Regions from separate parts of the Homo sapiens genome. Here regions 1, 3, 4, 5, 6 and 7 are each linked to region 2. The links are contacts of gene promoters, found by promoter capture Hi-C in human tissues and cell types (Jung and others, 2019). All regions are on one chromosome and are shown on one strand. The core of a region is centred on a gene start or on the middle of the fragment in contact, and the rest is flanking DNA. Distances in the headings are between cores, read along the strand shown. Region 1 has its middle 20 kb from the start of SERPINB2. Region 2 holds the start of VPS4B (vacuolar protein sorting 4 homolog B). Region 3 has its middle 280 kb from the start of PHLPP1. Region 4 overlaps PHLPP1 (PH domain and leucine rich repeat protein phosphatase 1). Region 5 has its middle 260 kb from the start of BCL2. Region 6 overlaps SERPINB10 (serpin family B member 10). Region 7 has its middle 270 kb from the start of BCL2.

The links. Contacts are between HindIII fragments. The study calls those that stand out against the background at their distance.
Region 1: a contact is called between a fragment that was not itself captured here and the fragment with the promoter of VPS4B in region 2, in 1 of the 25 tissues and cell types used here (lymphoblastoid cells).
Region 3: a fragment that was not itself captured here is called in contact with the fragment with the promoter of VPS4B in region 2 in 1 of the 25 tissues and cell types used here (lymphoblastoid cells).
Region 4: a contact is called between a fragment that was not itself captured here and the fragment with the promoter of VPS4B in region 2, in 1 of the 25 tissues and cell types used here (lymphoblastoid cells).
Region 5: a fragment that was not itself captured here is called in contact with the fragment with the promoter of VPS4B in region 2 in 2 of the 25 tissues and cell types used here (spleen and thymus).
Region 6: a contact is called between a fragment that was not itself captured here and the fragment with the promoter of VPS4B in region 2, in 1 of the 25 tissues and cell types used here (spleen).
Region 7: a contact is called between a fragment that was not itself captured here and the fragment with the promoter of VPS4B in region 2, in 6 of the 25 tissues and cell types used here (adrenal gland, dorsolateral prefrontal cortex, heart left ventricle and 3 more).

Annotation. Positions count from the first base shown.
Region 1 is chr18:63,865,523-63,869,182 of GRCh38, reverse strand. No RefSeq gene overlaps it. Among named protein-coding and RNA genes, the nearest start is that of SERPINB2, 20 kb to the left of the region's middle. RefSeq lists an enhancer at 1-32. The HindIII fragment of the contact is 4,452 bases long and covers 1-3,660 here.
Region 2 is chr18:63,420,839-63,424,139 of GRCh38, reverse strand. VPS4B (vacuolar protein sorting 4 homolog B) reads left to right here and starts at 1,664. Exons shown (of 11, transcript NM_004869.4): 1 at 1,664-1,907. The coding sequence starts at 1,881. RefSeq lists an enhancer at 1,497-1,796. The HindIII fragment of the contact is 11,812 bases long and covers 1-3,301 here.
Region 3 is chr18:62,989,855-62,993,185 of GRCh38, reverse strand. No RefSeq gene overlaps it. Among named protein-coding and RNA genes, the nearest start is that of PHLPP1, 280 kb to the right of the region's middle. The HindIII fragment of the contact is 4,858 bases long and covers 1-3,331 here.
Region 4 is chr18:62,972,365-62,975,637 of GRCh38, reverse strand. It overlaps PHLPP1 (PH domain and leucine rich repeat protein phosphatase 1), which reads right to left. Exons shown (of 17, transcript NM_194449.4): 15 at 2,930-3,124; 16 at 13-241. Among named protein-coding and RNA genes, the nearest start is that of PHLPP1, 260 kb to the right of the region's middle. The HindIII fragment of the contact is 3,739 bases long and covers 1-3,273 here.
Region 5 is chr18:63,061,764-63,065,327 of GRCh38, reverse strand. No RefSeq gene overlaps it. Among named protein-coding and RNA genes, the nearest start is that of BCL2, 260 kb to the left of the region's middle. RefSeq lists an enhancer at 1-112. The HindIII fragment of the contact is 4,298 bases long and covers 1-3,564 here.
Region 6 is chr18:63,918,064-63,921,378 of GRCh38, reverse strand. It overlaps SERPINB10 (serpin family B member 10), which reads right to left. Exons shown (of 8, transcript NM_005024.3): 4 at 3,277-3,315; 5 at 1,474-1,591. Among named protein-coding and RNA genes, the nearest start is that of SERPINB10, 12 kb to the right of the region's middle. The HindIII fragment of the contact is 5,143 bases long and covers 1-3,315 here.
Region 7 is chr18:63,044,281-63,047,664 of GRCh38, reverse strand. No RefSeq gene overlaps it. Among named protein-coding and RNA genes, the nearest start is that of BCL2, 270 kb to the left of the region's middle. The HindIII fragment of the contact is 4,462 bases long and covers 1-3,384 here.

The DNA of each region.
Region 1 (3,660 bases), core at 211-2,710, 450 kb before region 2:
AAGGAGTTAAATTAATGACAAAGTATGTTTGTCTAAAACTGTTTTCTATCCACTTGGGTGGCAAGGGAGTTTCTATTTTACACCTTGCGTTGCTGTCTGCCTCTGCTGATTCTGCAGTTTCCTTTTGTTTCCTAGTTTCTTGTAGCATTGGCCCATTCTAGTTCATTTCTGCTTATTGTTTCAGGCTTTATTTATTTATTTATTATTTATTTTGCTGGAGCCTGTCTCTGTCACCCAGGCTGGAGTGAGATGGTGCGATCTCATCTCACTGCAACCTCCGCCTCCCAGGTTCAAGCAATTCTCCTGCCTCAGACTCGTGAGCAGCTGGGACTACAGGTGCACTACAGCCCACAACAGCCCGGCTAATTTTTGTTTTTTTTTTTAGTAGAGACGGGGTTTCACCATGTTGGCTAGGCTGGTTTGAACTCCTGACCACAAGTGATCCGCCCGCTTTGGCATCCTAAAGGGCTGGGATTACAGGCGTGAGCCACCATACCCAGCCTGCTACAGGCTTTTATAATAGATTATGAAACCTTGTTGTGTAGAAGTGAAAACTAACGCTCTTCCTTGCTTCTAATATAACAAAGCACTTTGAGTATGGGAAAAAAATTGCATCTTGGGATCATTAATAACATGGTTATTACATCTGGCTATAGTTTCACTCTCAAATAATAAAAACCTCAAATAAACCTGGTCTCCCTAATTAGTCACATCCGAAGCTATGGCATGACCCTTATGAATACAACACAAGTACGTGAAAGTCATTGCTTTTTCCACTATCGATGGATTAATGTAAATTTGGAAATCTTGGTAATTTTGCACATAGTTTTCTTCTGAGGTTACCTGTTCTTTCCTTTTCTAAAGCTTTCTGTCTCTGGATCTTTCTTTGATATCTATTTCCCAAGAGATGAAGCTATCTGAGTTCTACTGCTAACCCCAACGGAAACATGCAGGTTACAATGCACCTTGTCTGGATAGTCCAGCAAACCAGAAATAATCGAAAAGCAATTCCAATCTTTGCTTCCATCTCTTGGAAGAAAGAGGGTTTCCAGTTGAGGCCTCCATGACACCACATCAAAAATCCCTTTGCAACTCTTTTCCAATTCTATCAACAACAGCCCTGTGCCTGGACCTTTGCCTCTCCCTCTTGCCTTTGCTCTTCGATGTCTCTCTCTGCTCCCTACTCTCACACGCCCTCTCAGACACCTAAACCCCTTGCTTTACAAAAATTCCTCAGGCCTCTTCCTTTTCCTCCTTTTTATTAGCTCTTAATTAGATCTGTTAACTTACCCTCTGGGTTATACACATTACTCAGTTTCTCCTGCCTAGAAACTAATCCATGAAGCAAGAAACCTCCCCCACATAATAGAAGCAAAGAGAATAGAGAGAGGCAGACCTGTGGTGGAGATTGTGAACACTAATTCATTAACTTAATTTAATGTGTTCATTTAACTTAATGAAAAGCCGTTCATAATTTTTAATTCAATTTAAAATGAAGATTTACATTATATTAATTAAAAAGTATTATGTTATTTTCATAAAACTCAAACATGAGCACAAACAGCTATGCAAAATATTTGCCTCTCCCAATTCCTTACCCCACCCAGTTACTCTCAGCTTGTTTCAACACATTTCTAGCTTTCTGACTCCCAGTTTCTGGTTTCATGTCCCAGGTTTAATGATTGCTTTTGAGACCCTTTGGCTATGACAATTCTAAAATTTCTCTTTCTGTTTCTTTTTTTCTCTTTTTGATAAAGACTTTTCCATCTAGCTTTTAGTTTGTCTTGCTTCTTTGTTTTGATGTTACCATTGCCTGGGATGAGAACTTCACAAAACCCCTCACCACATACACTTGCTTCCCTCACCCCAAATTTAAACAGATAGTGGTATACCTGTCTGACTTGTTCACTACACTATAATTCTACAGTGGAAGTTAAATCATGTTTCTCTCTGCTTTGAGCAATGTAAGTATTCTGCAGATGTTGGCTGAATTAAATGTAATGGAATTATCTTTCACAGTATGAAATTGACCTCCCCACCTACTCAATGCCATCCTCATCATTCTCCGCACCTTCGCTGTGAACTCTGCAGGATTCATTCCAGCTCTTCCTTCCTCCTCCCTCCCCTTCACAGCCCTCTTCTATCAATGCTGGGCTGAGGTAACCACCTACTTCGCACGCCCTTATTTTTGTACTTATATGTAGACAGTGTGTTTAATAGTGAAAAGAACACAAGCTTTGAGTCGATTCATAAAATCATAGTGATGAATAACATTCTACGTGCATAATGACAATTCTGAAATTGCACATTACTATATGCGTTCATGGTACTAAGCAATTTAGCTATATTATCTAATTTAATTTGTATGATAACCATATGTATTAGTACTATGATTGCCCCATTTCATAGAGGAGAAAAACAGAGCTTAAGGATAGTAGAGCACTTGCTCAAGGTTGCACAGCTAGTTAGTCAGGATGTCAAGGCCCCATTCTTATCAACTGTATCTTAACAAAATCCCAATCAACTTTTAACGTCTACTCCAACTTACCTGGATAACTTTGGACAATTTATTAAGCTCTCTCATATCTTTATATGTAAAATGGGCTTTAATATGATCTATCATTTAGTTTTTGTGTGAAATTAAATGCAATAATACATAAAGCATTTATTCATATTTAGTATTGGGCACATGGAAGTGGCTCCATAAATGCAGTCATATCCCTATTTTCCCCATCATCATCATAATTTATGACATTAATTAAACTTTTTTTTTTTATTATACTCTAAGTTTTAGGGTACATGTGCACATTGTGCAGGTTAGTTACATATGTATACATGTGCCATGCTGGTGCACTGCACCCACTAACGTGTCATCTAGCATTAGGTATATCTCCCAATGCTATCCCTCCCCCCTCCCCCGACCCCACCACAGTCCCCAGAGTGTGATATTCCCCTTCCTGTGTCCATGTGATCTCATTGTTCAATTCCCACCTATGAGTGAGAATATGCGGTGTTTGGTTTTTTGTTCTTGCGATAGTTTACTGAGAATGATGGTTTCCAATTTCATCCATGTCCCTACAAAGGACATGAACTCATCATTTTTTATGGCTGCATAGTATTCCATGGTGTATATGTGCCACATTTTCTTAATCCAGTCTATCATTGTTGGACATTTGGGTTGGTTCCAAGTCTTTGCTATTGTGAATAGTGCCGCAATAAACATACATGTGCATGTGTCTTTATAGCAGCATGATTTATAGTCCTTTGGGTATATACCCAGTAATGGGATGGCTGGGTCAAATGGTATTTCTAGTTCTAGATCCCTGAGGAATCGCCACACTGACTTCCACAATGGTTGAACTAGTTTACAGTCCCACCAACAGTGTAAAAGTGTTCCTATTTCTCCACATCCTCTCCAGCACCTGTTGTTTCCTGACTTTTTAATGATTGCCATTCTAACTGGTGTGAGATGATATCTCATAGTGGTTTTGATTTGCATTTCTCTGATGGCCAGTGATGATGAGCATTTCTTCATGTGTTTTTTGGCTGTATAAATGTCTTCTTTTGAGAAGTGTCTGTTCATGTCCTTTGCCCACTTTTTGATGGGGTTGTTTGTTTTTTTCTTGTAAATTTGTTTGAGTTCATTGTAGATTCTGGATA
Region 2 (3,301 bases), core at 415-2,914:
CCATGTTGGCCAGGCTGGTCTCGAACTCCTGACCTCAAGTGATCCACCCACCTCGGCCTCCCAAAGTGCTGGGATTACAGGCGTGAGTCACCACGCCCGGCCCATCTTTGCTTAAATTATAAACTCAGTTTCTCCCACAGTTAGTTCAGCCTATGCTCAGGAATGTACAAGGACAGCTTGGAGGTTAAAAGTAAGATGGAGTTGGTTAAGTTAGATCTCTTTCACTGTCTCAGTCATCATTTTGCGAAGGCAAATTCACAAGTGGGAAGAAAGGACGGGTAGATGCAGGGCAGAGAGAGGGCTCTGTGCTTCGAGCCTGGATGATACAGATTTGGCAATACTATTCTAAGGAGAGACCAGAGAAAGAAGTTTAGGGTAGAAGGTAATTAATTAGAGTATGTTGAATTTGTCTTGCAGAAAAACCCTGTGAAGGAAACCTCTGGGAGGCTGTTGTAAATGCTGGGCTGGGGATGGGGTGGGTCTAGAGATCCAGATTTGAAGCAATTTCTAGTCTATTGATAGCTGAAGCTCAAGAAGAGAGTTAGATGAGCAGAGGTGAAGAGAGAAGAGGACATCAGACTCTTGAGTAAATTCAGCTTAAGCTCAGGGAGGAGTAAGAAAGGGAGACAGTGAAGGAAGCAGATAAGGAATATTGGGAAGCTGGACAAACAAGAACTGGGTAGTTGACAATACCAATGAAGAGGGAAGAGGAGAGGACTTTAATTCTTTCGGAGATGCCAGATGAGAAAAAATTAAGAAATGAGTGAGAAAAAAATGATGGAGTGATTAAACATCTATGTTGCTTTCCTTTGAGAATGTTAACTATGAAAAGAAGAAAAGGGTGGTGGTGGCTGCAAACCATAGGAAGGCTGAGAAAGGGTTTTACTTTGGTTCTGCCTCTAATCCCTGACGCATTCAACCTCCTCAAGCCATTTGCTTGTAAACATAACTGGCATAAATAATATCTGATATGCCCATTTTACAGGACAAGTGCTTCCCTCTCAGACCACATACTCGAGGACAGCGGCCGTCCACGCCTTATTTACATTCATCTTCCCAACACAACAGTCATTTGGAAGATGCCGAGTGGCGTGGGAAGAACAAGCGGGAACGAGCGCCGACCCGCCCGCGGCCTGACTGCTAGCGCACCGCTGTGCGGCCGCCTCACCGCGCACTCCCTCCTGAATTATTCACCACCGAGACGAGGACGGTGATCGCCCCCATTCCACAGAGGACACGGAGTGAAGGCGCAGTCACAGGCCCAAAGCCCCCAGTCGGCGGGTCTTGGAAATGGACGACTTTTTCACTCAAAAGCTACGAGGCAACAAAGCATGTGGATGAGGAGGGAAGGGAGCCGGGGCCAATAATTCATCTCAAAGTAAAAGACGTCCCCGGGGGTGGGGAACAAACAAACAACAAAACCCGGCTCTGTGCTTCCGCGCTTGCGCTCTCCTAGGTCTGCCAGGCTGCCGCCCGCGCCTAGGCCAGAGTCTCAGTGCGCCTGCGCCGAGCCCGACTTCCGCCAGGGCTCGATTGGCTTCCAGGCTACTTCTCCCGGCCCAGGGAGGGCCTGCGCTGTGGCTAGAGAAGGGAGTCTGGTGACTGGGTGCGCGTGCTGATGACGAAATCGGAAGTGCCCGGAGCAGAGGCGGGACCAGAACCTAGAGGGCCTCGGGATTGCGGAAGTTTGGTGGGGAGGGTCGGAGCTCTGGTGGAGAGAGTGTTGTCTAAAACAAGTTCCGGAAGGGAGGCTGCCCTTCGCGGTCCGAGAACCACCGGCCTCCCCAGTTTGAGGGCTGTTACCCCGTGCGCGCTTCGACGTTGCTGCTGTTGGCTCTCCTCGCCCCTCGTTCCCTTGGGAACCGCCTGGGAACTCCGCCATGTCATCCACTTCGCCCAACCTCCAGGTATCATTGCTCATCTCCCGTCCCCCTAGGGAGCTGGGATCGAGGGGAGGCGCGAGAAGCGGGTGGGGGGCGGGGAGAAGGGAGGAAGCGGCCGCGCCTGTGGTCGAGGCGCAGGAGGGCGGGTCCGGGGACCTGCAGCAGGTGGGAGAGGGGCCCGTTTTCCAACGGAAAGGTCGTTTCTGGCCCGCTCTTGGGGTCTCCCGAGCTACTGGCTTTGTGAGACTCTTCACTTTTGTTGACACTTCCCGCTTCCAAACCAGCCAAGATCTGGGCAGGTTTCTCCAATCAGGGTTAACGGAGAAAGAAAGAACGTAATTTTTGCAAAGCCCTATTCTGGACCAGTTGAAGATAGGGTGGTCATAGTTCGGTCTTAGTTTCTCAAGCTGACAGCAGACCCCTTCATTCTGAGCTGTCAGGTGAGTAGAGATATGGGAACAGACCAAGAATCTGAGATTACAGCCAGCCTGCATGCAATCTCCGTGAAGTCATTGAATTTATGTGCACACTCCTGTGGCTCCCAGATGGTAGTGTGTAAGATCGAGGAGTATTCTTAAACCTCTGTGTGGCTCCACTTCCCCTCCTCTACCGCAATGAGCACAGTGTTTTGTACACAAATCATGGAATCTTAAGATTTTAGGCTTAATCGTTAGTCCTCTGTGGAATGGAATTCGTTCAGAAAAGAAATTTCTTAATGTAATGGTGTCTCCCATCCCCAGAATGGATCTAGGGCTTCAGTGGCGTTTAGAATGTAATGTGGCTTAATGTAGAGGACTCCCAGTCCAGTAAGTCAATAAGGCACAAAAGAGTAGCCTAAAATACTTGTATTGAGTCCCCGTCGTGGACTTCCGGTAGTTTGTTGAACAAGCAGTTATTGGAGTGCCTGACAGAGGCATCAAAGGTAATGGAAGAACTCCTTAACCCATGATAATTGATTCTGAAGAAAGACCACTCAAAGTAGACCCACTTAAACAGAGATTAAAATTTCACACACACATACACAAAAAGAGTGGGAAAGGAGGCTTGCTTGGGACTTTCATCTTGAAAATCGACCTAGAAGATTATTAAAATAATTGTTATCTTTCACAAAATATTATAATTGTATAATTGCAACAATGACTCATTTTGTGGAATAAGTCAAGTGTTGATTTGTCTGTGTTTTTTTCCTTTTCTTTTCTTTCTTTTTTTTTTTTTTTTTGAGACGGAGTCTTGCACGGTCGCCCAGGCTTGAGTGCAGTGGCGTGATTTCAGCTCACTACAACCTCCACCTCCCAGGTTCAAGCGATTCTCTTGCCTCAGCCTCCTGAGTACCTGGGACTACAGGCACCCACCACCACGCCCAGCTAATTTTTGTATTTTTAGTAGTAGAGATGAGGTTTCACCATGTTGGCCCAGGC
Region 3 (3,331 bases), core at 410-2,909, 430 kb after region 2:
ATAAGTCAAGCACACCCTGAGAATGACTCCATGGTCTTAAGGAATGTGTGTTCGAAGTTCTGAGCTAAGGAATCCAGGAGTGGCCGCCCGGAGATTCATCTGAAGGACGTCCAGACCCCTGGCCCATCCCTTGGAATGGCAGGCGGTACAGGGGATTGAGGCCCTTTGTTTTGGGTTAAATGAAGGTTGCTAGGTGGAGGTTGCCAGGTGGAGGTTGCCAGGTAGAGGTTCCTAAGTGAAAATGCCATATAACCCGCATGCTTCTTACACATGAGAGCCATCTTCCTGTCCAGCTTGGGGCTCCTGGACAGCTCTGTATGTGAGTCCCCAATAAACCCTACGTCTCCTTAGCTGGCTCCAGGTCTGTTCCTCAGCCTATTGGACATGGCACCATCCCTACTGGAGTTAACAGGGGTTCTGCACGACAACCCTCATTATTTTTACTTTAGGAGATAGGATCTTGCCTTGTAACCCATTGGGGAGTGCAGTGGCGTGATCATGGCTCACTACAGCCTCGACCTCCTGGGCTCAAGTACTGCGCCCAGCTTTATTTTGTGGGGGGCGCAGGAGAGTAGAGACGGGGTCTCACTTTTTTGCCCAGGCTGGTCTCAAATGCCTGGCCTCAAGTGATCCTCCTGCCTCAGCCTCACAAAGTACTGGGATTACAGGCGTGAGACCCCGTGCCGGCCCAGTCCTGACATCTTATCACCTGGCCTGCCTTCAGCAAGAATTCTGTCGTGTCGTTGGCCAGAATCCCCTGTTCTCCTGATGTTTCCTCTTAATTTTCCATCCGCTCACCTGCAGCCCGGCTCCTAGGCTAGAAATTCCCATTTCTCCTTGTATTCAGAGCATCGTGTTCACTAATGTCCCTTGGCCTTGGCCTCCATCTCACACACTCTTCCCCTGAATCACTGAGCTCCAGCCACGCCACCCTCCCCAGGGCGCCTGGGCGCGCCCAGTTTGCAGCCAGGAGGACCTCCCTGCATGGCCCCTGACCTCCCCGCCTGAGGGGAGGATGAACTGCGCACGCGCAGCCCGTCTTCCCTCCCTCGGGAGCCCGGGCTCCCTACAGGGGGCGCTCTCTGGCTGCGGGGGCAAGTCTGATTGAACCAGGCTCTCAGTCATTGGCTCACTTACCGGCGACACAGGGCACAGGCTCCATGGCCAGCCTTAAGACACACACGCAACCTTTTCGCCCTCTTCTGCATGTTTCTCTGCCCTGTTCTGCTCTTGGTCAGATGCCGGGGTGAGGAGAGAGGGACGCTCTTTTTTGCCCACTCCCCGAGAGCGTCCCGGCTCTTGCTTCCGCTCCGGGTCATTGCAGTTGCCTCTGCTTGAAATTCCTTCCCTTCCTCCAGATCCTAATCTGACTTCTTTTCGGCCAGGTCTTAGGTCAGATATCACTCTCGATCACTTACCCTCTTCTATTTCCTTCATATCTTTTTTTGCAATCTGAAATATAATAGTGTTAATTTTAAAAAGTGTATTTATTCCTGGTCCATCTTCTCCATCGGGAGGCGCTGCCTGAAGGCATTGGCCTTCTCTGACCTCCTTCCCACTAACCTCAGGGGCTGGAATGGTGTCTGGAATAGAGGAAGTGCTCAGTGGATCGGTTCTCCGTGCTGAAAGTAGGCGAACAGTCAAAATAAATACCCCACCCTTACCCATCTCCCCAGGAGAGACATTAGAGGGCTCCTGCTGGCTCAAAAGAAAAGGTGGATAAATGCTAACAATAGGGATGGGCCCCGAGGAAGCTAGGCCGCCCCTGCATGCACAGACCCTCCTGTGGGCATGCCCCACCAGGGCACAAGGGGCTGGCAGTGTTCTGGTGCGACGCTCTTCATTCAGTGTGGACTGGCAGCCCAGGAGCACCGGTCACCTGAGGACAGCCCCCAGGGCAAGACAGGGACCAAAACACACAGAAACAGACAATTCAAGGAACAAAACCAAAAACACCTATTCCAGTTTATATCCTCATAGAGGAAAAGACAGGATGCTAGGAAAAAGGAAAATTCAGAGAACTGTAAAAAGCACTTGGAAATTAAAATATGATAGAAGAGATTTTTTAAGAGATTTGGAGGATAAAATAAGGTTATCTCTCAGAAAGACAAAAGGGACATAAAGATAAGAAAACTTGAGGATTAGCCACAGTAGTCCAGTGTGAACTATAAAGATCTCAATAGGACAGGGGTTGATAAACTTTTTCTGTAAATGGCCAGATAGTAAATATTTCAGACATTGTGGGCCTTACAGCCTCTGTCCCAGCTACTCAATTCTGCCACTATAACACAAAAGCAGCTGTAGAGAACATGTAAATAATAAAGTTTTGTTGGAACACAACACGTAGTTGTGCAGATAAAGTTTTACTGAAACACAATCATTGTATCAGTCTCAGACTCAACAGTGGAAGCAGGAAGCAATGCTGTGAAATTTTTGAAGGAAAAGAGTTCCAGCCAGAATTCTATGCTCAACCACACATCCATCAAGTGTTATGGAAAAACAAAGATATCTTCAGACAGGTAGGGGCTCATGAAACTGACTTCCTATGCATATTTTCTAAGGAAGTTACTGGAGATTTTTTCCTGGTAAAATGAAGGGGTACACCAAGAAAGAAGAAAATACAAACGCAGGGACAGGCGATCCAGTAAAGGAGATGAGCAAAGAAAATTCCCAGGAAGTGAAAAAGGAAGCACAAGGATGACAGCTTAGTAGCAATCCTGGGGATGAAAAGGCTAGACCGGACAGGGAGATAGAGGTGCCAGAGGGATGTCACTAACAAAAAGAGGAATAATCCATCCAGGCGTGGTAGTTCACGCCTGTAATCCCAGAACTTTGGGAGGCCAAGATGGGCGGATCACCTGGAGTCAGGAGCTCGAGACCAGTCTGGCCAACATGATGAAACCCCATCTCTACCAAAAATACAAAAATTAGCCGGGCATGGTGCCACGTGCCTATAATCCCAGCTACTCAGGAGGCTGAAGTACGAGAATCTCTTGAACCCAGGAGGGGAAGATTGCAGTGAGCCGAGTGTGCCACTGCACTCCAGCCTGGGCGACAGTGTGAGATTCTGTCTTAAAAAAAAAAGAAAGGAAAAGAAAAAGAGGAATAACTTAATTCATAGATTATTGAATGTGTTTGAACATATTTATACTTCTGATGGAGCGGTCGGGGATAAGTGAAAATTACATAGAAAATCAAGAGAGCAAAAACAAAGAAACAAAAAACAGGCAAGTATTAACTCCAAATAAAAACCTGTACAGAAAAGGAGATAGAATCAAAAGGCACTACCTAGCTCAGCTGCAGATAATATTTACATATTCACAATGATACA
Region 4 (3,273 bases), core at 165-2,664, 450 kb after region 2:
CTGTTTTCTCACCTCAGTGATAATGGCCTTGTGCTGTTTAATCCTCTTCAGCTCTTCTTCACAGCTCATGATGTAAGATCTGGACAGAGGCAGCGGCTTTCCATTTCGACAGAGAACTGTTTGGCACTTGCCCACATTAGCAGAGGTCAAGGTGAAGGATCCTCCTGGATCCACAGGGTCATGCTTGATATGACAAAGGACAGCGGCACCACCAAGCTTCTGCCCAGCAGTTCCAAGTTTCCTGGAATCCGAAGAGAGGGGGTGACACTCAAACACAGCCCATCAGTGCCAGTTCTGCAAATTCAACAGCAAGACCGCACCACTGGACAGGGCCAGGAAGGAGACAGCTGGGGATTCCACTCCGCCTCCTTCATCAAAGCACACACTGCTCTGCCTCTTTGATGAAAAGAGCCCCTGAATCTGACATCACACACATCCACACAGAGAGGCTCACAACTGGAAGACAGTATCACTGTACCATTAAAAGCCACAGGTGCTGCTCTGGAAGGCGGGTGCCCCTGGGCTGCTGTGTACAGCCTGCTACCCTCATCAACCACACTGCCCTATCAGCACACTCCAAAGACAGCAGGAAAATGACTTCTTTCTCCATCTGCTTCTCTAAATCCCCTCTGTCCCCAGGAAAGGAACATTGAAAAAACCATGTATGTAAGAGCAGGTATAAACACCCTACCCCACTGACAGGCACACTTTAGAAAAACCTGACAACCCTCTCCCCCTTATAAGGGTGTTTGCTGGTAGCAGCCTTGAAGTATTGGAGTGTTCATGTTCCTGCCCTATATAGTAAAGACTTTCTGGACCAGCACCATCTATTCTAGAAAACTCATAGAAAGGACATTCTAGTAATCAAATACCAAGTGCTTGTGATTTATCTTTTTAATCATGAGAATCCACAGACCTACCAAATACAGAAAGCACCTGCAAATTCTGAAAATCAAAAATCAAAAACCCCTCTTACAAAGCTACTTGTTCTGGCAGATTATCAAGGGAGAGAAATGGCAGAGACGGACAAAAGACCATTATTGCTCCCATGGCCTCATGAACAACTATGGCAAGCCCCACAAATGGTAACACTGCCCAGGCCCCTGCTGTTCCTGAGTGGTACAGGAGCAAGAAAGTTAAGAAAAACAGCCTCCCGTTTTACAAGGGCAGACCCTCAGGTACTGTCTGCTCCTATCACGTGTGTAAGGTAAGCAACTGGCAAGAAGAGCAATGGAAACCAGGGCTGCCTACTTGCATGCATTAGGAAATCCCGCACAAAGACCAGTTCCCCTAAGGACCAAAAGCTCACCACACAACCCGTACCCTCTTAACAGATAGGGAAAATAAGAGACATACAAAAGACCCTGGAGAAGGGCCTATAGTTTAGGTTCCTAAACTCCAACTTTCAGATATTTGGCTCTAGACCCTTCCAAGGCATCTCTACTTTCTCCCTTTCACAGGCACAGTGATTTGTAAAAAGTATAGCAAGTAATCCGAGACTGGGGTTCTCAGTTTTTAATTCTTACCCAGTGCTTGAGGGTGCATAAAAAGCAGACCTTTTGGGGGTTGTGAAGGGATGTGTTTGTGCTGTGGTCTGTATGCACATGTGTATGTGTGTGCATATGATACATGCTTGCTGTTTTTCTAGAACAAAAGGGTGGTAAAAACAGGAAAGCTGATGTGCCTGCTAGTTACAACATCCTTTGAAGGGAGTCTCACAACCTGAGGTCAGGTCCTGGCTGCACTACCTATTAGCCCGTAGGCACTGTGCTTCACCTCACTGTACATCACTTTCAGTAACATTACCCAGCTAACTGGTAACAATTTATGACACATAAGGTAATTTAGAACAATGACTGGTACATATTAAGGGCTTGCTGGATATTAGCCATTATTGTTCAGTTGCTAATTGTATATGCTCACTGAGAATCTGAAAGTCAGGGGTGAGTGTAGCAGCAAGAACCACCCCAGGCTTGCCTCCACCAAGCTCTCTGAGAGGAACCATTTGTGATGCAGGTATCACTGTAAAGGCTGCTCTGAACACTCCTCCCCAGACACCACTTCTACCCCTCTAACAAAGCTACTTGCTCTGGCAGAATATCAAGGGAGAGAAAGAGCAGATAAGGATAAAACACCATGACTGCTCTCATGACCTCAAATACCAGTACATTCATCACTCCTGGGTCCCACATGAGTGAGTCTGCAGCACAATACTTATAGACAGGCAATTCCATTATTACCTAGAAAGCCATGAAGGTGGTAAGAATAAACAATTCTCTGAATGAAGGAATCCTCATTCCTCTAAGAGTTACAAACAATATTCCACAATTTCTACAGCAACCTAAAGCTCTGCTGCTGGTGGCAACTCCAGGCTATGGCCTAGGATTCTGCCAGTAACACTGTCTTGAACATTTAATAAAGGAGAAAACAAAATATAAAGAATGATTTAACTCTTGGGCTAAAATCTGACCATCTTGATTTCACAAAGGTTTGCACTATCTCAAACCAGTGATAGTATTTCATAAGGGCCAAGAAACTAGGATAGAAACGGTCCATTTCAAAGAGAGGTCCCCACAACAGAAAGTCTAAAAAGCCCCTACAGCTCACATGATTTGGGAGGAGAAATGGCATTGCAAACAATCTGATGAAAATCTGCAATCAACACAGGCCAGTGAGGTCCAGTTCTCAGAGAAACTAATTCCTTGTCATTGTCTGAGCCTTCTACAAAGTTGTCTGAACATCAGTATGTCTCAAACCGGAGCACCATTCCTGATGCCTGGGCAACACCAAACTTGCCTGAATGCATCTTGGTACTCATAGTCAAAAAACATGGCTTGGAGACCATTGGGCACCTGCTTTTCTAAACAGAGGATAAACACTCAAAGAGCAAGAAAACACACAGCAGGTAAGCAGGAACTCTGAGTTTTACCTTTGCATGACAATGAATGTATTGACCATGTATTCTTCTTCGTTTTTTGTTTTTTGCAGCTCTTCAGCCAAAATGTCACTCATAGTGCACTGGAGAAGGTAGGGCACCTCCACATTCCGGTCTCCGTCAAACACACCATACAGGGCTTCGCGGTTGTCACAGAAGTTATTCACCGACAGGGCTGCGACACACAACCTGCAAGGCAACCACACTTCTGTGCTGAGTCCACTCATCCTCCTGCTCCAGGCCCAGCCCAGTGCTTATTTCAAGATTTTCCTAACTCAGTTTTGTCTCTTTCTTCATGACTCCAGACAGATTAAGGGCAGGTAAACTGACTCCAGCTA
Region 5 (3,564 bases), core at 197-2,696, 360 kb after region 2:
AGATCTCAGGACAAACACGAGATCTCAGCACAAACACGAGATCTCAGCACAAACACGAGATCTCAGTGCAGCCAGCTGCCACTGGACCTTCTCCTCTCCTGCTTTCTTAGAATTGATCAATTTTCTCCCATATCCATTTGCTCCCCTCTTCTTTTTTTTTTTTTTTGAGACTAGTTCTCGCTTTGTCGCCCAGGCTGGAGTGCAGTGGCACGACCTCAGCTCACTGCAACCTCTGCCTCTCAGGTTCAACCAATTCTCCTGCCTCAGCCTCTAGAGTAGCTGGGACTACAGGTGCACACCACCATGCCCGGCTAATTTTTGTATTTTTAGTAGAGATGGGGTTTCACGATGTTGGCTGGGCTGGTCTCGAACTCCTGGCGTCAAAGTGATCCACCTGCCTCAGCCTCCCAAAGCGCTGTAATTACAGGCATAAGCCACCATGCCCGGCCTCGATTGCTTTGTTTTTAAGCCAATTTAATGCATGGATCACTTACCTTGTGTAAGTCCAGTACGCCTGGAGTTATAAAACAGTCTCTCCCCTTGGAAGGCTCAGGTGTAATAAACAAGAATTTGAAACCAGGAGAGAGTGACTAAGGGAATGTGGATTCAGGGGGAAAAAAGCAGGAAAAAAGTCAACATTTCTAATTTGGAGAAACCGATGACACCACTGAGAGAGCCCCTCAGGGAAGAAGAGGGGGCTGGAGAATCCCTAAAGAGAAGCTTAGATAACACGGGGGAATCAGATGGCAGGATCTGCAGGCATAGGACTCTGAAGGAGACTTGAGAGTCCACTAAATTACAGAATGTTTTTGTTAAATAATGCCTGAGGGATGATCTGATCTGACATGGATAGCTCCTTTTATTTCTTTTAAGTAAAATTAAATCCAACTGTAAGCCCCAATTTCACCATTAACAAACGAGATAACAAAGTCAATAGTTCCCACAATATGCTTGGGTTAGGGACTCCTGCAACGCCCTTCCGGGTCTGCCACGCAGAGAAAACTCGGCTCTTATCTGCTTTATTAGTTGTAATTAGTCATATAATTTTTTAAAAAGCAAACATCTAAATAAGTTTGGACACCCAAGGATGAGATGATCTCGCATTTCCCTTGCAGTGCTAACATTTTTTCCTTCTCCTGAGCCCAATCTACTCCTCCACCCGCGTGACTTTGATTTGCAAATCACGTGTGTCACGCTCCCTCTCTGGGTTCCCTACCTGTTGTTGGTCACCAGGACTCAGAAACCAGATTTCTGACAAACTTGGATTTGTTAAATAGAGCTAAGTGCTACTGAGAAAAACAACGCAGGACAGGCCGGGGGCGGTGGCTCACACCCGTAATCTCAATACTTTGGGAGGCAGAGGCGGGAAGATGGCTCGAGCCTGGGGGTTCCAGACCAGCCTGGGGAACAGAGTAAGACCCTGTCTCTACAAAAAATAAACAAAACTAGCCAGGTGTGGAAGCGTGCGTCTATAGACCCAGCTACTTGGGAGGCTGAGGTGGGAGCCCAGGAGGTCAAGGCTGCAGTGATCCATGATTGCCACTGTACTCCAGCCTAGGCGACAGAGTGAAACCCGTCTCAAAAAAAAAAAAAAAAAAAAAAAAAAAAAAAAAAAAAAAAAAAAAAAAAAGAAAAAAAAAAGAAAAAGAAAAAAGAAACAAAAGAAAAGAGAGAAGAGAAAAGCAGGACATAGGAAGGGGCCTGCAGGGTGTGGGTGGTGGTTTTAATGAGGGTGGTCTGGGAGAAGCCTCAGTGAGAACGTGGTGCTGAAACAAAGATCTGGTGGAGGTAAGGATGCAAGACGTGGGGACAGCAAGAGGGAAGCTGTGCAGAGCGAGGCCACAGCAAGGACAAAGCCCCGGAGGGAAGAGCCTGGTGCTGCAGCAGAATGGGCAAGAGAAAGTGGTGGAGGTGGAGGTGGAGGCTCGGTGGAGTCCAGGTTATATAGATGGTGGGTCTGAAACTTGGAGATGTATCAGAATCCCCGCGATTCCCCTCTCCAGAGTTTCTGATTCAGTAGGTCTGGGGTGGGGCCAAGATGTTTGCATTCCTAAGGAATTCCTGGGTGCTGCTGTCGCTGCTGGTCCAAGCCCACGCTTTGAGAACTGCTGCTGTAGACAGATGCCTAGAACACTCTTCTCCCAGATGGCTGCACGAATCTCTCACGTTGCCTTTATGTTTTCATTCAAACATGACCTGTACAATGAGGGCTTCCCTGGCTACCTTACCCACCACAATTCCAAACTTCCTCCCCTACTAAACACACTCCATCCTCTGTCCCTACTTTTTTTTTTTTTAGACAGAGTCTCACTCTGTCACCCAGCTGGAGTGCAGCGGCATGATCTTGGCTCACTGCAACCTCCGCCTCTGAGGCTCAAGCGATTATCCTGTCTCAGCCTCCCGAGTAGCTGAGATGATAGGCATGCACCACCACGCCCAGCTAATTTTTGTATTTTTAGTAGAGACGGGGTTTCACCATGTTGGCCAGGCTGGTCTCGAACTCCTGGCCTCAAGTGATCTGCCTGCCTCAGCCTTCCAAAGTGCTGGGATTACAGGCGTGAGCCACCGCACCCGGCCAATCCTCTGTCCCTACCTTCACAGCACTTCTCACCTGGATGAGATTCCTGGAGTTGTTGTAACAAATGACCACAGACCAGGGAGCTTAAAGCCACAGAAATTTACTCACTTACAGTGCTGGAGGTCAGAGGTCCAAAATCAAGGTGCTGGCAGAACTGGTTCCTTCTGAAGACTTGGGGAGAAAGCTCCCATGCCGCTCTCCTAACTGCTGGTGGTCCCGGCACTGCTGGGTGACTCTGGGCTCATAGTTGCGTCACTCCCATCTCCACCTCCTCCTTCCCACGGCTGCCTTCCCTCTGTGCCTCCCTGAGTCCTCACATGGCCTTCTTGTCAAGATGCCAGTCATTGAATTTAGTGCCTTCTCAAATCCAGTGTGACCTCATCTTGACTATTCACATCTGCAAAAATCCTGTTTTCAAACAAGGTCACATTCTATGGTTCTGGGTGGGCATGAACTGAGTGGGGAGTGGGGGAGGGGACAGTATTTAACCCAGTACTTGACCCTTTATCAGGCAATATTTTGAATAGCTCTTGCTTATTTTCTAGGCCCCTTCCTCATGCAAATGTTCTTGATAAGCTCCATGAAGACAGGGAATTGCCCCCCTTTTGTTCCGTTTTAAAATCATCAGTGACTAGAACAGTGCCTAGCACTTAACAGATTCTCAATGGATAGTTGTTGAATCCATAAATGTATGTGTAATAGAATAAATGGTATTTGGGCCAGGTGCGGTGGCTTATGCCTGCAATTCCAGCACTTTGGGAGGCCGAGGCGGGCGGATCACCTGAAGTCGGGAGTTCGAGACTATCCTGACCAACATGGAGAAATCCCGTCTCTACTAAAAATACAAAATTAGCCTGGTGTGGTGGCACATGCCTGTAATCCCAGCTACTCCGGAGGCTGAGGCAGGAGAATCACTTAAACCCGGGAGGCGGAGGTTGCAGTGAGCCAAGATCACAACATTGCACTCCAGCCTGGGCAATAAGAGC
Region 6 (3,315 bases), core at 60-2,559, 500 kb before region 2:
ACAAGGTCTGGGAAAACCATTCTGAATGTGATTTCAGGTATGGTGAATTTGAAATGCATGGGACCCTTGGCAAATATGTCTAGCAGGTGTTTGTTATGAGCCCTGAAGTTCAGAGGAGAAGACAGCAAAACATTCCATGTGCTTAGACACAAAGCAAAGGCATCATCATTAATATTCATTAATGACAAATGATGAATTAATCTTCATTAAGTCATGAATGATTAATTAATCTTCATTAATGATGATGCCTTTGTATTTCTTCATAAGATATAATATAATATCAATTGAAATGTTGATTTAAAAGGCAGCATGGTGTGTAGAAATCAGTTCAGACTTTGGAACTAAGCTGACTTATATTCGAAATCCTATTGCTGAAGCTTTAAACTGTGTAATCATAGATAATTTCTCTAAAATCTCAGCTTCCTTATTTCTAAAATAAGGATAACAATAAAAGACTGTTAAATTGCCTGGGAGAATCCTTCTACTACTTCCTTTTAGAAATAAAACCCTGAAATTTAGGTGACAAATGGCAACCCAGCTGAAAACTCCATTTTGCAGGTCTTTCTTCTAGCAAGTATGGTGACTGGAATTGACTGGAATGTGGTTGGTCACTCTTGCCTGGAATTAGGGGCTTTTTGATCCTAAAACTAGGAAAGTCACAGGCAAACCAGAATGCACTGGTCACCCTAGCAGAAAGTGTGCTATGGACTAAGTTTAGACCAGTGGGAGATGAGTGGAATTAACATGTGAAACTTCCAGGGCATCCCCTTAAAGACAAATTAGCTTTTGCTGAAATTTCTTTTCCCCACTTCCTGCTGCTACTACAACTGGCTATTGTAAGAACCATCTTGCACCTAGAGATGGAAGCCATGTATTGAGGATGGCAGTGCTGAACACCAGCCTGGATCTCTGGATGGCCTTGGGAGGCAAAATGCTCTCTCTAAGCCAGGATGCCTAACTACCTTTGAACTATTATTTGAGAGAAAGACATACTTGTGTCTTATTAAGCCACTATATTTTGGGTCTCTTCTTTAGAGTAGTTTAATCCATACTCTAACTGATACTTGAACTTACTTTGAAAAGTATTTAAGATTCTATAGCACATTTAATGCCACATTTCTGTTATTAGTAGATATTTTTCCTTAAAAACCATGCATGTGGCAGTATTTTCAATTTCCTTTTTGCATTTTTCTGCTTTTTACCCTTGGGCTCTTCTTTGGAATTAGTGGGAGATGATAATTTTCTTGTCTATTTGGTAAAGTGATGGCCTGACTTACTTGTTTTAGATAAGACTTATTAGGAAGGCAGTGAATCTAAAAATTACGTACATGAATAGAAATAAATGTTCTGAATATTTACAATGTGTCCACACTTCTATTTAAGGAGTATACATACTTACATATGACACAAACTAAAATAAATACAAGGATGTTTGGGAAAAGCACGCTGCCAAACCCCTTGGTGAAAGCTTACCCTCGGTCTGTCTTTCAACCCAAGAGTTGATGTCCTTTCTGATTTGATCAGAAGCTTCCACAAAGTTAACAGGCTGAGGTTCTGCACCAAAATATGTTTTCATGTCTTCTAAATATTTCTGAAAGACATAGATAAAAATCCCCTTTTGTAGAGTTTGTTCAAAATTGAGAAATCAAATCTATTTAGATTATCAAAAGAACTAGGTAGGCGGGCAATTGCACACTCCCACACCATCACTCCATCCTCTCTTTCCTGACTCCCAGTTTTGGTCAAAAACTAAACACCTCACTCTTCAAACTTAGCAGGGCACTGGCTAGCTATGCAGAGCTCCAGCTGTGGAAGGAAGTACGGATGCCCACATTTTTGGGGCTTCCACATCCTCTTCCTTTCTATTTTTATCCATGCCTTGAAATGAGGCTAGAATGGAAAGGGACTACAAATAACAAGAGTGACCCCAGTGGCCAAGAGGTACTGGGCATTGTACTTGACTTTTTATGGTAGGTATGAAACCAAAGTGAGGCTTGTGATACTGGTAGCTTCCTTCTGTGGATTCTAAACAACAAGAATCTTGTGGAGGACCCTTGAAGAAAATGATATCCTGCCATGAAAATGGATTTCTAAGCAGAGTTGAATGTTATATTAGGCATTCTGAGGCAAAAAAAAAAAAAATGAGGCCTTCACCTCCTCCTGGTCCTCTGATGTTCACCCAGTGGCAGTCATCACATGTAGGCTATGACTGAGTTTGCTGTTATGGAGGCATCTGCCTTGGGAACACAATTTATTCTTCAAGACATTGTAGTATTCCTTCAATTTGCTTACTTTATGCAGGGCTTGTAGGAGAAAAAGTGATGAGTTAATTCTGTTGCCAGGAAGTGGCTTGAAGATTATGAAGTCTAAATTCTGTGGAATTTAAAATCTAATAAAAGGAAAACTTAAATATTTTTGAGGGACCACTGCCTGTCTTAATTCAGGGCTTGTGGACATATAAAAATATGTTTGTCTCTATCTCTGTGTCCCTCTTGTTTCTAAGTGCCCACTGAGTCAATCATGTCTCCTACTTCTGCATCAAACGAGAGTCCATGAGCCTACAAGAAAGGAAACTGTCTTTAAGATTCCATTTGGATGATTTTATGTCTTTAGTAATAACAAAGCTCAATTCCTGAACTCCCCAGAATTCACTAGATTTGAACAGAGATAGCATTGCTTGAAATCACAAGGTAGCTTTATTTTATCTTATTGCTATTCTTCTACCCTATCTAATTTCCTTGCTCTTTGCCCACTGGACACACGGGTCCTCCTGCCCAAAGAGATGTTGGACAATGAAGGAAATTATTGACCTGGGTTGTCATGTGACCCTCTTAACAGAGGACAGAGTCATCATGGTCTGCATTGGTGGGGTTTCAACCCTTAGTAAAGAGGAGAGGTTGATATTATTTCATGTTTCATGTTCCCAAAGTCTGTAAAGTCTTGATGTGAAAACTCCTCACTTCTCTCATCCCAAGGTCAGTTTTGCTCTCAAGTAGACAGTCTCCAGCCAAGTCTCCATATGTATTTGTAGGCCATTCTCAGGGGCTACCTCTTTATTCTAGACAGAAATATCTGATTCCTAGATCTGATTTGAGACCTGTTATTGGTTTCCTTTACCACTAGACACTCATTGGTTGGTCTAATTGATTGTTTGCAGGGAAGTACTGACCACATGAAGATTGTCCCTGGATCCCTAAAGAAATATACAGAGTTTACTGATTGGTCTCACATTGCTCTTTCTTTTCCATTAGCTTAAAATAAGACATTTGCACTTACATTGTGAAATGCATACGTTTTCTCTCCATATATCGCATT
Region 7 (3,384 bases), core at 321-2,820, 380 kb after region 2:
TTTTTTCTATAGTAATGCTGCTTACAAATACAAAACTCCATATTTAATCCTTTATACTCATAGCTCTTATGCATTGATTTATAAAAACAAATTTACAAGTCAAAAACAAATCACAGGCTGGGCATGGTGGCTCACGCCTGTAATCCCAACACTTTGGGAGGCTGAGATGAGCCGATCACCTGAGGTCAGGAGTTCAACACCAGCATGGCCAACATGGTGAAACCCTCTCTGTACTAAAAATACAAAAATTAGCAGGGCATGGTGGTGGGCGCCTGTAATCCCAGCTACTCAGGAGGCTAAGGCAGGAGAATCTCTTGAACCTGGGAGGCAGAGGTTGCAGTGAGCCAAGATCATGCCACTGCACTGCAGCCTGGGCGACAGAGCAAGACTTCGTCTCAAAAAACAAACAAACAAACAAAACAAATCACAAAGCCAACAAAATTAAAATGTTACCTCACAGGACTGTTGATCTTGTTTGTTGAAGCTAAATTGCTGCTCTCTATGAAACAGCACTCATTGCTGTGGCAGCAGTTTTGTTGTTTTGTTTAATTTTGACATCCCTGTATTCTTGGGGGGCATCTAATGGCTCAGTGATTTCCTTGCCTCTTCTCTAACTAGTTGAAATCTTTGTGTTCAGTTGGCACAAGGTGGTGTCACAGTTTCGTCTGCCAAGATCTCTCCTTTTCAGACCCCACTCTTCTGGCAGTAGACCAGGACAATTATATGTTCCTTGGTGACAAAAAGATTGTAAATACAAATGCAGGTACCTCACTCCTGGGCAGGGATTTAGTTTTGGAGTGGTCACCAAATGATGCTGCATTCACTTCTATTAAGATCTTTAAAAATTAGCATCAAAAAATATGTATTGTACGGAACTCATGGCCCCCACCACATCCTCAGACTCTTGGAGCCCTGTAGATGCCAGTGTGGGACACACACTGCAATCTCAGCTGTTACCCACAACCTGAATGGGTGCAGCGCTTACCAGTTTAGACAGGTCTGAGAAGACATGGAGGAAAGAGAGGTCATGAAATGGAATTTTCCATCTAAGCCACTCTAAGCAGGCCAGAGGCAAATCATCTTTGAATTGCCCAGGATGCCTGGCAGAGTGCCTGGCATGTATGGTAAGTACTTTATAGTTTGTTTGTTAAAGTGATTTGTTTGTTTGTTTCTGAGATGGAGTCTCACTCTTGTTGCCAGGCTGGAATGCAATGGTGTGATCTCGGCTCACTGCCGCCTCCACATACCAGGTTCAAGCAATTCTCTTGCCTCAGTCTCCCAAAGTGGCTGGGATTGCAGGCATCCACCACCACGCCGGGTTAATTTTTGTTTTGTTTTTGAGACGGAGTTTTGCTCTTGTTGCCCAGGCTGGAGTGCAATGGCGCAATCTCGGTTCACCGCAACCTCCACCTTCTGGGTTCAAGCGATTCTCCTGCCTCAGCCTCTCGAGTAGCTGGAATTACAGGCATGCGCCACTACACCTGGCTAATTTTGTATTTTTAGTAGAAACAGGGTTTCTCCAGGTTGGTCAGGCTGGTCTTGAACTCCTGACCTCAGGTGATCCACCCGCCTCGGCCTCCCAAAGTGCTGGGATTACAGGCATGAGCCACCGTGCCCGGCCAATTTTTGTATTTTTAGTAGGGACGGGGTTTCACCATGTTGGCCAGGCTGGTCTCAAACTCCTGACCTCAGGTGATCCTACTGCCTCGGCCTCCCTAAGTGCTGTGATTACAGGCTGTTAAAGTGATTTAAATAGAAGACTCAAGTTATTAAGTCACCCAGGATGGGCCTCTGATGATTGGCTTTGTTTCTAAATATCCCAAAAATAATTTATCTGGGTTTATTACCATATTATATATAATCCTAAGCTCCTCCTATATATTTATATATAATATTATAACACATTATATATTATATATATATTTCATATATAATATATAGTACATTAAATATATTTAATATAGGTACATTAAAATTATATTAAATATATATTAATTATAGTGAAGTAAAAATATTATATACTATACATGAGTTATAAATAATACATGTGTTATATAATATATAAAATTATATTATAACTCATAGATCATATGACATATATTATAGAGGCTGGGGTGGGGTGAGGCTCTGGTAGACTCATCTCGAAGCCACTGTGGTTTGGCAAGTGCACTTCCATTGTGTGTCTCCGGAGAGCATATCTGAAGGGGGCCATTGGAGGCTGGGGCCACTATTGCTAAGCGCCGGTGGGAATTTAAATCATTGGATGTGTTGTTCATTATTCCCAGTCCTGTCTGAGTCTGCCATGGAGAAAGGTGTTCTCAGCATTGACTCCCCAGCCTTTCTCCAACCTTACCCCAAGCTTTTGAATAATACATGTTTTCCTTGTCCGCAGATGATTTTCTCTTAAAAACATACGATGCCATCTAATCCCAAATGAGGGGCTAAATAGAACCCACACTTTTAAAAATAAAGTCATGTCTTTCCTATAATTTTTTAGCACTTAGTATATTTTGAGACTGTAACATTCTGGCACTCTTAGTTTTCTTCCAGAGACGTTATCAAGTTCTAAGTCATGTCGCTAAGTCAGCAACAAGCTTTCTTCCGTGCCTGATAGTCTAAGAACTCAACACACAGGCTTTAAAACTACATTACCTTGGTTTAAATCTCACTCTTGCAACTTATTTGTTCTCTGACTTGGGAAGGCCACTTAACATTTCTGAGCCTTAGTTTTCTCATTTCAAAAATGGTTGTTGAAAGGACTAGGGGAAATAATACTGATCAGGTTTTTAATCACCATGCCTGGCATCGCAAAGAGCTCAATAAATAATAGCTGTTTTTCTGTCATTGCCTCCTAAAATATATAAATTCACATATGATTTTGGGAATTGAGTTCCTCGAATGAGATTTCCAAAGACTTTATTGGATGTAATTCATTTTCTAGAACTTAATTTCTTCCCAGGTCCTTCCAGAATGCAGCATAGTAACATCAACACACACCTATATACAGTATCCTGAAACCAGAACAGCCGTTTTACTGCACTGCTGTTTGCTCATAAAGCAGTCACATTGTTGGTGTCTGCTCTGCACTCAAGAAAGAAGGGATCAACACTTTACTGGAAATAAGACAGAAGACTCTGTTGGACTCAGGAGCTAACTTGTTATAATTTGCTCATTTGAGTCTTAGGACTTTCTGATATGCAAAACCTTGAATTCTTTCATACTTGACTAGTTCTTTTCTCACTTTTAAATTACACGATTTCACTTTTAAATTATAGAACTTACAAAAAATTCTGAATTGAAATCTCTGAACCCAAAGCAGACACACTGGGTTGAGCTGTCTTACAAGAAGGTACACCAAACTCAGTAGTGTGGATCCCAGTCTCA